Regions from separate parts of the Homo sapiens genome. Here regions 2 and 3 are each linked to region 1. The links are contacts of gene promoters, found by promoter capture Hi-C in blood cells and fetal thymus (Javierre and others, 2016). All regions are on one chromosome and are shown on one strand. Each heading gives the region's core, a stretch centred on a gene start or on the middle of the fragment in contact. The rest is flanking DNA. Distances are from core to core; before and after follow the strand shown.

Region 1 (3,107 bases), core at 405-2,904:
TTATTTTTTTGTAGAGGTGGGGTCTTGCCATGTTGCCCAGGCTGGTCTTGAACTCTGGACTCAACCGATCCTCCCGCCTCAGCCTCCCAAAGTGCTAGGATTACAGGCGTGAGACACTGTGCCCAGTGACAAAGATTTTGAACTTGAATGAGCTAAATCTGCAGTTGCAAATTTTGACAAAAACATAATTTAACCACCTGATAACAAAAATAAATCTTATCCAAAACTATTTATGAAAATGAAAAATGTTTAGATATTCTCCAAACTTTCAGTATATCAGGTGAAAGGTACACCTCATTGAAAAAATCAGGTCTAATTCATAGTCATTTGGTATCTTGGTAAAACCTATCTGGTATATTTCCCAGAATCTGAAAGAGTGAAAAAATAAGGATTAAGTAAACAAATCCTTTGGCAAGCCAGGTGGTTTTCAGCTCTTTGCTTTCCATAAAATAGAAGGAGGGCCTAATTGAAGTCAGCTCATAGATAATCAAATCTAATTTTTTGAGGTCAAGAATTGAATGATATTGCTACAACAAAACTCTTCCATTCCTAGGCACAGTACTTGTTTATATGAACAAGGTTTCTCAGGGCACACAGCTATAAAAATTACAAATAGGAATAGAATTGATGCTCAACCCTTCTTTTCCTACTAATAAGATATATTCAGCCACAGATGTAGGAACTTTAAAAAGCAACAATATGCATTTTTCAATAAAGTTACACACACTATTTAGTAATTATGAAATTTTCTAATATTTATGTTGCTTTGACCACGTACTAATAATAATTTCAAAGATGATGCAGTCCAAAAGCAGGTGATTTGCTAGCTGTGTAATCTTACTCAACATACTTAATTTATCTGAGCCTTGGTTCCCTGATTTGCAAACTGGGGACAGTAATCAGACCTAGCTCTTAGTGTTTGTCCAAAGATTAAATGCGTTAATACATGTAAAAGCACTTAACGCCACGCTTGGTACATAATATGTGCTATAGATGTTTTACCTGCTATAATCATAGTAATCAATAGCAAATCTCCTAAAAATAAAAGCCTGTCGATTTGTCTTCACAGATAGGAAGAACGGGCTGGAGGGATCGGATCTAATCCACAGGCACACTGCCAGAAACAAGGGACCCCCACGGGGAAATGGTATGTGCAGGCAGAAGAGAGACAGAAGGAACTTGGAGCTACCTGCTGGGACAAGAATAGTGCAGGATCACAGGCTAAGAACGAAGAGGGTTGGGCGAAGTTAGAATGAGCAGATCCACGTAGGGTTCGCATTACAAATGTCTATGGATCTCTATGCACTGCTCCGGGAAACTGGAGCAAGAGAGGCAGGCCTAAAATGCCGTCGCGGATGAAGCGGGGCCAGAAACGCACTGCCCCCGCTCAGACCTAGGGCCCCAGGTGTCGCGCGGGTCGAAGCCCTAACCTCCAGGGACTCCAGACCCCTGCCGGTGACCTAAACCCCACAACCCGCGACCAGCACAGTCTTGTCGTCTCCGTCGCCACAGTCGCCGCCACTTCCGGCGCAGCTCGGCCTCGCGAGGGCGCTTGCGCCCGGCGACGGTCGAAACTGGCTCTTCGCGGCCTCCGTCGCCGGACTTTCGTCAATGTTGTCACCGTCTTTTCCTCCTTTCCCCCAGTTCCCTTTCACTTCCGGGGTTGCTCTGGATCCGCTGGTTCCGTAACAACATCCCGTTGGCTTCCCTCAGGCGGCGGGACCAGTGCAGCCGCCGCCTCCCAGGATCGTCCGCCGGTCAGGGCCCTTGCCCTCCCCGGCACAGGCCACCATGGCCACCAACCCACAGCCGCAGCCGCCTCCTCCGGCGCCGCCGCCTCCCCCGCCGCAGCCGCAGCCGCAGCCACCGCCGCCGCCGCCGGGCCCCGGGGCTGGCCCCGGCGCGGGCGGGGCGGGCGGCGCGGGTGCGGGCGCCGGGGACCCGCAGCTCGTGGCCATGATCGTGAACCACCTCAAGAGCCAGGGGCTCTTCGACCAGTTCCGCAGAGACTGCCTGGCCGACGTGGACACCAAGGTTAGGAGCGCGCCGGGTTTGGGGGTCTGCGAGGGAAGGGGAGGACCCAAGGGCGCGCTTCTTTTGCAGTGGCTTCCTCTTGGAGCTGCAGCTGTGTGCCACGGACTGTGCAAAGCACAGAGTGTTCATTCCTTAGCGTGTCCTTTGGTTCGTTTTACCGACTAGTGTTTAAGTACCTACTACGTGCCAGTCATGGTTTCGGCACAGTGATTACCCCGGTCTGATGAGCAAGACTAAGGCATTGTTCTTACAGGAACTGGTTTGGAAACAGTGGCGCTAACAGTAGCCAGTTTTGTATTCATTCTCATATCTGATGATTTTACTTTGTATCGAAGTTATGTTTGCCTTCTTTCTTGAAGGTTTCTGGGCGGTAAGGGCCTTTATCCTTTGGAGAAATGACTAAATGGTAATTGAATCAAGTTATGTGTAATATGCTTTGCTGGACATCGTGGGGGTGGGAGCGCAAAGATAAGGAGGCAAACCTGAGACAGGACTTTAGTATTGTTTCTAGCAGTGATTGCCTGATTTAGGTAACTTAGGCCATGTCACCATTCTAAGGTAAGAAGGGACAGGAAGGTGGGGTAGAGAGAACCGAGTCATTCAGTGGAGAAAAGATGCAGGAGAGGTGACAGCAGATACTGAAGTGGAGAAAGGACAGGAAAGAGAGCAGATTCAGGAGAGTAATGTAGAGAAGGGAAAGGACAGCAACAAGGTTCCCTGTCCAGAAAGAGAGGCTGGAAAGGGGAAGGGATTTTGTACCAAATGTCAGAGTGAAAGGGACATTAGCAGGAACAAGTAAACTTAGCTGGATTGGCAAAGAATTAGCCAAAGACACCAGGAAAGAGCAGTCAGTGAGATGGATGGAAAACCACAGTACAGTCTAGAATTCTGGAAGCAGAAAGCATGTTGGAAAATTAACTGGTTTGTAGGGGTTGTTTTTGTCTGCTTGTTAAATCTGGTTGGGTCCATTGGATTGGAGTTTTGATGAAATGAGGGTTTCCTTTTTTTTTTTTTTTTTTTTTTTTGAGACAGAGTCTCGCCCTGTCGCCAGGCTGGAATGCAATGGCGTGATC
Region 2 (3,107 bases), core at 453-2,952, 2.0 Mb before region 1:
CCTTTCTGGTTTTAGATGGAGAAGCTAAGATCCAGAAAGTTAAGTATTTGCCAAAGGTCAGACAGCTAATTTAATAGTAAAAGTAGAGCTCTTTTTCACCTCTCACTCCTTTTAAAATTTTGTCTCATAAATCTTTGATATCTGTGGATCAGAAAGAATTCTGTTTGAGGTAGTCAGAATAGCATTTCTGCGTATTCAACTAGAACAGGAGTTTTGGCTGGGCGCGGTGGCTCATGCCTGTAATCCCAGCACTTTGGGAGGCCGAGGCAGGCGGATCATCTGAGGTCAGGAGTTCGAGACCAGCTTGGTTAACATGGTGAAACCCCATTTCTACTAAAAATACAAAAAATTAATGGGGTGTGGTGTCAGGTGCCAGTAATACCAGCTACTTGGGAGGCTGAGGCAGGAGAATTGCTCGAACCTGGGAGGCAGAGGTTGCAGTGAGCTGAGATGGCGCCATTGCACTGCAACTTGGGCAGCAAGAGCAAAACTCTGCCTCAAAAAAAAAAAAAAAAAAAAAAAAAATAGGAGTTTTGTGACCGAGAAGTTAAGACATAGTGAAGGTTCAACTCCTTGAGTGGTTCTGTTTTTGCACTGCCTGTGTGGTAGCTAAGACTTGAATTTGAAAGTAATAGTTAGAGGGGTTAGATAGGATCTAAGCCTGAAGGCTGGTAAATCCAGGATAGGAACAATGCAAGAAAATCTTTATATACTATAGTAGTAGTTGGTCATTTAGTCCTAAATAATTTTTATTTGTGGTACTTATTCACCTCATTTTTATATACTAGTATTTTGCTTCCCATATTAATTTCTACTTGTCTTATAAATGTTAAGTATAAATTAATCTTAATTTGAAGAAAATGAATTATGGAACAAAATATAGGAAGTGAAAACTAGAGGGAGGTAGCTTTCCTCTATAAATTATGTGACTTAACATAAAAAATCAATGATGTGGAAAAGTCTTCTACAAGCCTGGTTACACATCACAGAAATACCTTACAGTTGCTTCATCTGTTTTGATGCATAAAGTGTTTTGTAGTGGCAGGCCCACTGCTTTTTTTTTCGTGATTCCTAGTGAACTGATGGGAATTTGTGCAAACAATGATTGTAGGTATATGACAAATTAATTTATCATTAAAAACCATAACCGACTGGGTGCGGTGGCTCGTGCCTGTAATCCCAGCACTTTGGGAGGCCGAGGCAGACGGATCACAAGGTCAGGAGATCGAGACCATCCTGGCTAACACGGTGAAACCCCGTCTCTACTAAAAACACAAAAAATTAGCCAGGCATGGTGGCATGCGCCTGTAGTCCCAGCTACTAGGGAGGCTGAGGCAGGAGAATAGTGTGAACGTGGGAGGCGGAGCTTGCAGTGAGCCAAGATCGCGTCACTGCACTCCAGCCTGGGCGACAGAGTGAGACTCTGTCTCAAAAAAAAAAAAACCCAAAAATCCCATAACGTTGATAATCTTCTAAGATGATAGAAATGAGTTGATAAGGAGAAAAGAAGGTTTTATGATTAAAATGAAAGTTTCATGAGTAATAATTTTGTAAGGAAAAAAGTTATGATTACATATAATTTCACTAATATATAAACGTAAAATGGAGAAATAATCCCAAATAAATACAATATAATAAAAATTGGGGGACATTTTATTTAAAGTGATGAGTGTGCTATGTATTCATAAGTTGATTTCAGTTTGGGATCTCAAGTGCAGTTCTCACATACCCAGTACAGTGTTAACTCTGTTTCTTTGTTTTTATGGGTTAAGAATTAAAAGTACCAATAGCGGTACTACATTCATGCCACTTAGCAATGAACAATCCTATTTCCTCCAAAAGAATGATACATCATTATGACATAGGGCTAGAGAATTAAAAAAAAAAAAAAAACACGATGCATTTGATATTTCATAATCATTCTTTAGTATTTCCAGAGAAGTAAGCTACAATATTTCCTATTCTGCAGGCACCAAGCATAACTCAGTTTTTGATTCAGAGTGTTGGAAAACAAATCTATCCAGTTTTTTCCTTGAATGTATCAATTTTTGTTCTGGCATGTAATGGTTAAAAGTTTGATACAGGCCAGAAACAATAAAAAATGGACAAAATATATAAAACAATGTTTTCCAAGATATTGGATATCAGGCAATGAAGGACAGTGAACCTTGATCAATAGGAAACAAAGTGAGTCCTATGATTGCCTCAGTTTATTGCCTTGGGAGAATTTCTAAGCCATAGTACAGGGAGAGGGGAACATATGCAGCCTAGTGGAATCCCTCTGTTGATAGAGCCTGGAGCCTGGTGAAACCAGTGCAGCCAGAGTTTGCTAGAAGGGAGAGAGCTGCATAGAGAGAGAATTCTAGTGATCTGGAATGAATCTCTCCTGATTCTTCAGGTAAGTATTGATCACTGTATGCATGTGAGGAAATGACCTGAGGCCAAGGAAAGGATCATCCAAAAATATTACAGTACAGTCTTGGATCACATAAAGACATTTTGTTCAATGATAGACTTCATAAGATTATAATGGAGCTGGAAAATTCCTACCACCTAGTGATGTCATAGATCTCAATGATGATGTCTTATGTGTCTGTGGTGATGCTGGTCTACTGTCTTGCTGATACATTTATCCTTATTTTATCTTTATTTTTTTTGAGATGAGGTCTCACTCTGTTGCCCAGGGTGGAGTAGAGTAGTGCAATCTTGGCTCACTGCAGCCTCGACCTTCTGGGCTCTGGTGATCCTCCCACCTCAGCCTCCCAAGTAGCTGGGACTACAGGCACGGGTCAACACACCCGGCTAATTTTTTGTATTTTTTGTAGAGACAGGATTTTGCCATGTTGTCCAGGCTGGTTTCAAACTTGTGGGCTCAAGCGATCCAGCTACCTCGGCCTCCCAAAGTGCTTATTACAGGTGTGAGCCATTGCACCTGCCCTATTGTTATTTTAGAGTATACTTTTTCTACCTATGTATATTTTCAAAAGTTAACCGTAAAACAACTTCAGACAGATCCTTCAAAGTATTACAGACGAAGGCATTGTTATCATAGATGACAGCTTTGTGCATGTTATTGCCCTTGAAGACCTTCCAGGGTGACAAAATCT
Region 3 (3,107 bases), core at 432-2,931, 2.0 Mb before region 1:
CTGTTTTTGTAAGTCGAAGTTTTAATTATAAAATTTTTACATTCTGTTAACATTTGCTGAATTCTTAAAGGAAAGCTATCCAGTTAATGGTGACCAAAGGTATAATTATTACTTAGAATGAATAAACACTTTAATTTTATAAATTTTTACTTGTTTTAGAATTGAATACCAGCCAGGTGCAGTGTGCAGTGGCTCACATCTGTAGTCCCAGCACTCTGGGAGGCCGAGGCTAGTGGATCACTTGAGGTCAGGAGTTCTAGACCAGCCTGGCCAACATAGTGAAAACCTGTCTTTACTAAAAATATAAAAATTTAGCCAGACATAGTGGCAGGCGCCTGTAATCCCAGCTGAGGCAGGAGAGTTGCTTGAACCTGGGAGGCGGAGGTTGCAGTGAGCTAAAGATATTACTGGGTATAGTTTAGGATAATGATGTAGAGAGACTTTCTTCTTAATTACATTTACATATTATAGGATTTTGAAATTTGATCTTAGTTTATTTCCCTTCTGGCTTGGTGAAGCGTAAGCTTAAGTTACAACTCTGTTAAGCCACCATGTGCTCCTCACCTGGAGATTTATGTTCTGGAAAGGCTGTTCTACAGCTTAGGGAGGATGGATTAAAGATAAAGAAAAGACTAAAGGAGGAAGACCATTATTAAAAAATTATTCTAATAGTTTCTGGAAGAATACTTAGTAGCTACTTGGTGGGGAGGTGTGGGAGGTTTGGTTGGGGTAGGGTACTAGATAGTAATATTAATAGAAGGGAGATTTACTTTTTTATTGAATATTCTTTCGTATTCTTTGAATTTTGTATCATATTATGTATTGCCACATGAATACACCTTCGACAAATCTGAACTAAAGTCATGACTAGTAGAAATAAAGGGGAGGGGATCAGACTTGAGAATTATGTAGGAAATAAAATTGATAGAATGTAGTGATTATACTTAAAGGGAGGATGAAAGAAGAGAAAAGAAATAAAAATGAGGATTCAGCCTGACTTTCTAGAGTATATAGAAGAGGGTCAGGAAATAAAAAAGATTCATTCTTGACAGATTAGGTTTGAACTGCTTGTGTAATCCAGATGGGCATTTATGAATAGGAGGTGGTAAAGATGGATTTCATGGTCAGAAGAGTGACCCAGTATGAAAAAGCAAATTTGATAGTTATTATTAGCATATAAGTAGGAATGGAAGCCATGTGGATATGCTTAGGGAAAATGTGTAAAGTCGTAAGAGAACAGGACATTAGACTGAATATTGGGAAGCAGTTGAATAAATTAGTTCTGGAAAAAGAGACCAGAGAAGACTTAACAGAGATAAAATATTTTCATATTTTAAAAGTTTTCATAGGCTGGGCATGGTGGCTCATCCGTGTAATTCTAGCATTTTGGGAGGCTGAGGCGGGCAGATCACTTGAGGTCAGGAGTTCGAGACCAGCCTGGCCAATGTGGTGAAACCCCATCTCTACTAAAAATACCAAAAAAATTAGCTGGGAGTTGTGATGGGCACCTGTAGTCCCAGCTACTCAGGAGACTGAGGTGGGAGAATCGCATGAACCTGAGGTTGCAGTGAGCTAAGATTGCACCACTGCATTCCAGCCTGGGCAACAGAGCAAGGCTTGTCTTAAAAAAAAAAAAAAAAGTTTTCATTATTTTATAAATTTTCCACATGCTTTGAGAGGGCTGATATAGAAGTGGGGAAATGTGATTTTAGGTTATGAGGAAGAAGTTTATAGCTCCTTAGAATTGCCCAGAATTAGAATGAGTTACTTCAAGATATAGTGAGCACCTTGCCTTTAGAAGTGTTGATATTGATATATATGACCTTACATCAAATAATTTTTTCTTTTTTTTTTTTAAGACAGAGTCTTGCTCTGTCACCCATGCTGAGGTGCAGTGGTGCAATCTCGGCTCACCGCAACCTCCTTCTTCCAGGTTCAAGCAGTTCTCCGTGCCTCAGCCTCTCGAGTAGCTGGGATTACAGGTGCCCATCATTACACCTGGCTGATTTTTGTATTTTTAGTAGAGACAGGGTTTCGCCGCGTTGGGCTGGCTGGTCTTGAACTCCTGACCTCAGGTGATCCGCCTGCCTCTGCGTCCCAAAGTGGTGGGATTACAGGCATGAGCCACCGTGCCTGGCAGGATAATGTTAACAGGTACAGTTGACCCTTGAACAACATGGGGATTAGGGTTGCCAACACCCTGTGCTGTTGAAAATCCACGTATAACTTTTGAATCTCTCAAAACTTTACTTACAGCCTACTACTGTTGACTGGAAGCCTTACCAATAACATAAAACAATCGAATAACAATTATTTCATGTATTATATGTAAAATATATATACTGGATTCTTACAGTAAGGTAAGCTAGAGAAAAGAATGTTACTAAGAACATCATACGGAAGAAAAAAATCTATTCACTATTTATTAAGTGGAAGTGGATCATCATAAATGTCTTTATCCTCATTGTCTTCACATTGAGTAGGCTGAGGAGGAAGAAGAGGTGGGGTTGGTCTTGCTGTTGCAGGGGTGGGAGAGGCAGAAGAAAATCGGTAATTAAGTGAACCCGCACAGTTCAAACCTGTGTTGTTCAAGGGTCAACTATATTCTGAGTTTTTTAGTGGAGGAGACACTAGATGACCATAAAGGGATTCTGTAATGATACAGTCCATTAGGCTTGGAGATACATTAAGAGAACTGACATGTAGAAATTATATAAATGTATATAATTTATATATACATCAATAAAAGCTGTGGGCAGATACGTGCTATTTTTAGACTTTTTATGATATTTTAAAAATATGGGGTTACATACATTACTAAAGTAATTCAAAGCTTACTGTTTTATGGGTATCTTTTATGTTAAAAGTACAGAGACCACTTTGCAATTTGTCTATTTTTTTTTCCCCGGAGGTTTTATGTCACATTTTAAACTTCCTGGGACCAGACATAATTAATGAAGCGAAACTTTTATAAAAATGTATTTTTTTTTTGGTTTCCAGAATGAATATGAACAGTTAAATTATGCAAAACAACTGAAAGAGAGATTGGAGGCTTTTACAAGAGATTTTCTTCCTCACATGAAAGAGGAAGAGGAGGTAAGCATAAT

Evidence for each region. The method cuts DNA at HindIII sites, captures the fragments that hold promoters and counts their contacts. A CHiCAGO score of 5 or more calls a contact.
Region 2: a contact is called between a fragment that was not itself captured here and the fragment with the promoter of BOD1L1 in region 1, in 5 of 17 cell types (naive CD8 T cells, non-activated CD4 T cells, total B cells and 2 more). The highest score is 12.0, in naive CD8 T cells.
Region 3: a fragment that was not itself captured here is called in contact with the fragment with the promoter of BOD1L1 in region 1 in 6 of 17 cell types (total CD8 T cells, naive CD8 T cells, activated CD4 T cells and 3 more); the score reaches 10.5 in total CD8 T cells.

What each region holds. Positions count from the first base shown.
Region 1 is chr4:13,626,272-13,629,378 of GRCh38, reverse strand. BOD1L1 (biorientation of chromosomes in cell division 1 like 1) reads left to right here and starts at 1,654. Exons shown (of 26, transcript NM_148894.3): 1 at 1,654-2,034. The coding sequence starts at 1,792. It overlaps MIR5091 (microRNA 5091), which reads right to left and starts at 1,514; the gene lies at 1,422-1,514. RefSeq lists enhancers at 764-1,494, 1,498-1,657, 1,495-2,225 and a silencer at 1,798-1,997. The HindIII fragment of the contact is 7,220 bases long and covers 1-3,107 here.
Region 2 is chr4:15,672,991-15,676,097 of GRCh38, reverse strand. It overlaps a transcript of FBXL5 not described here and a transcript of FAM200B not described here. Among named protein-coding and RNA genes, the nearest start is that of FAM200B, 7.3 kb to the left of the region's middle. The HindIII fragment of the contact is 8,677 bases long and covers 1-3,107 here.
Region 3 is chr4:15,640,777-15,643,883 of GRCh38, reverse strand. FBXL5 (F-box and leucine rich repeat protein 5) reads left to right here. Exons shown (of 11, transcript NM_012161.4): 3 at 3,001-3,096. It also overlaps a transcript of FAM200B not described here. Among named protein-coding and RNA genes, the nearest start is that of FBXL5, 13 kb to the left of the region's middle. The HindIII fragment of the contact is 2,309 bases long and covers 527-2,835 here.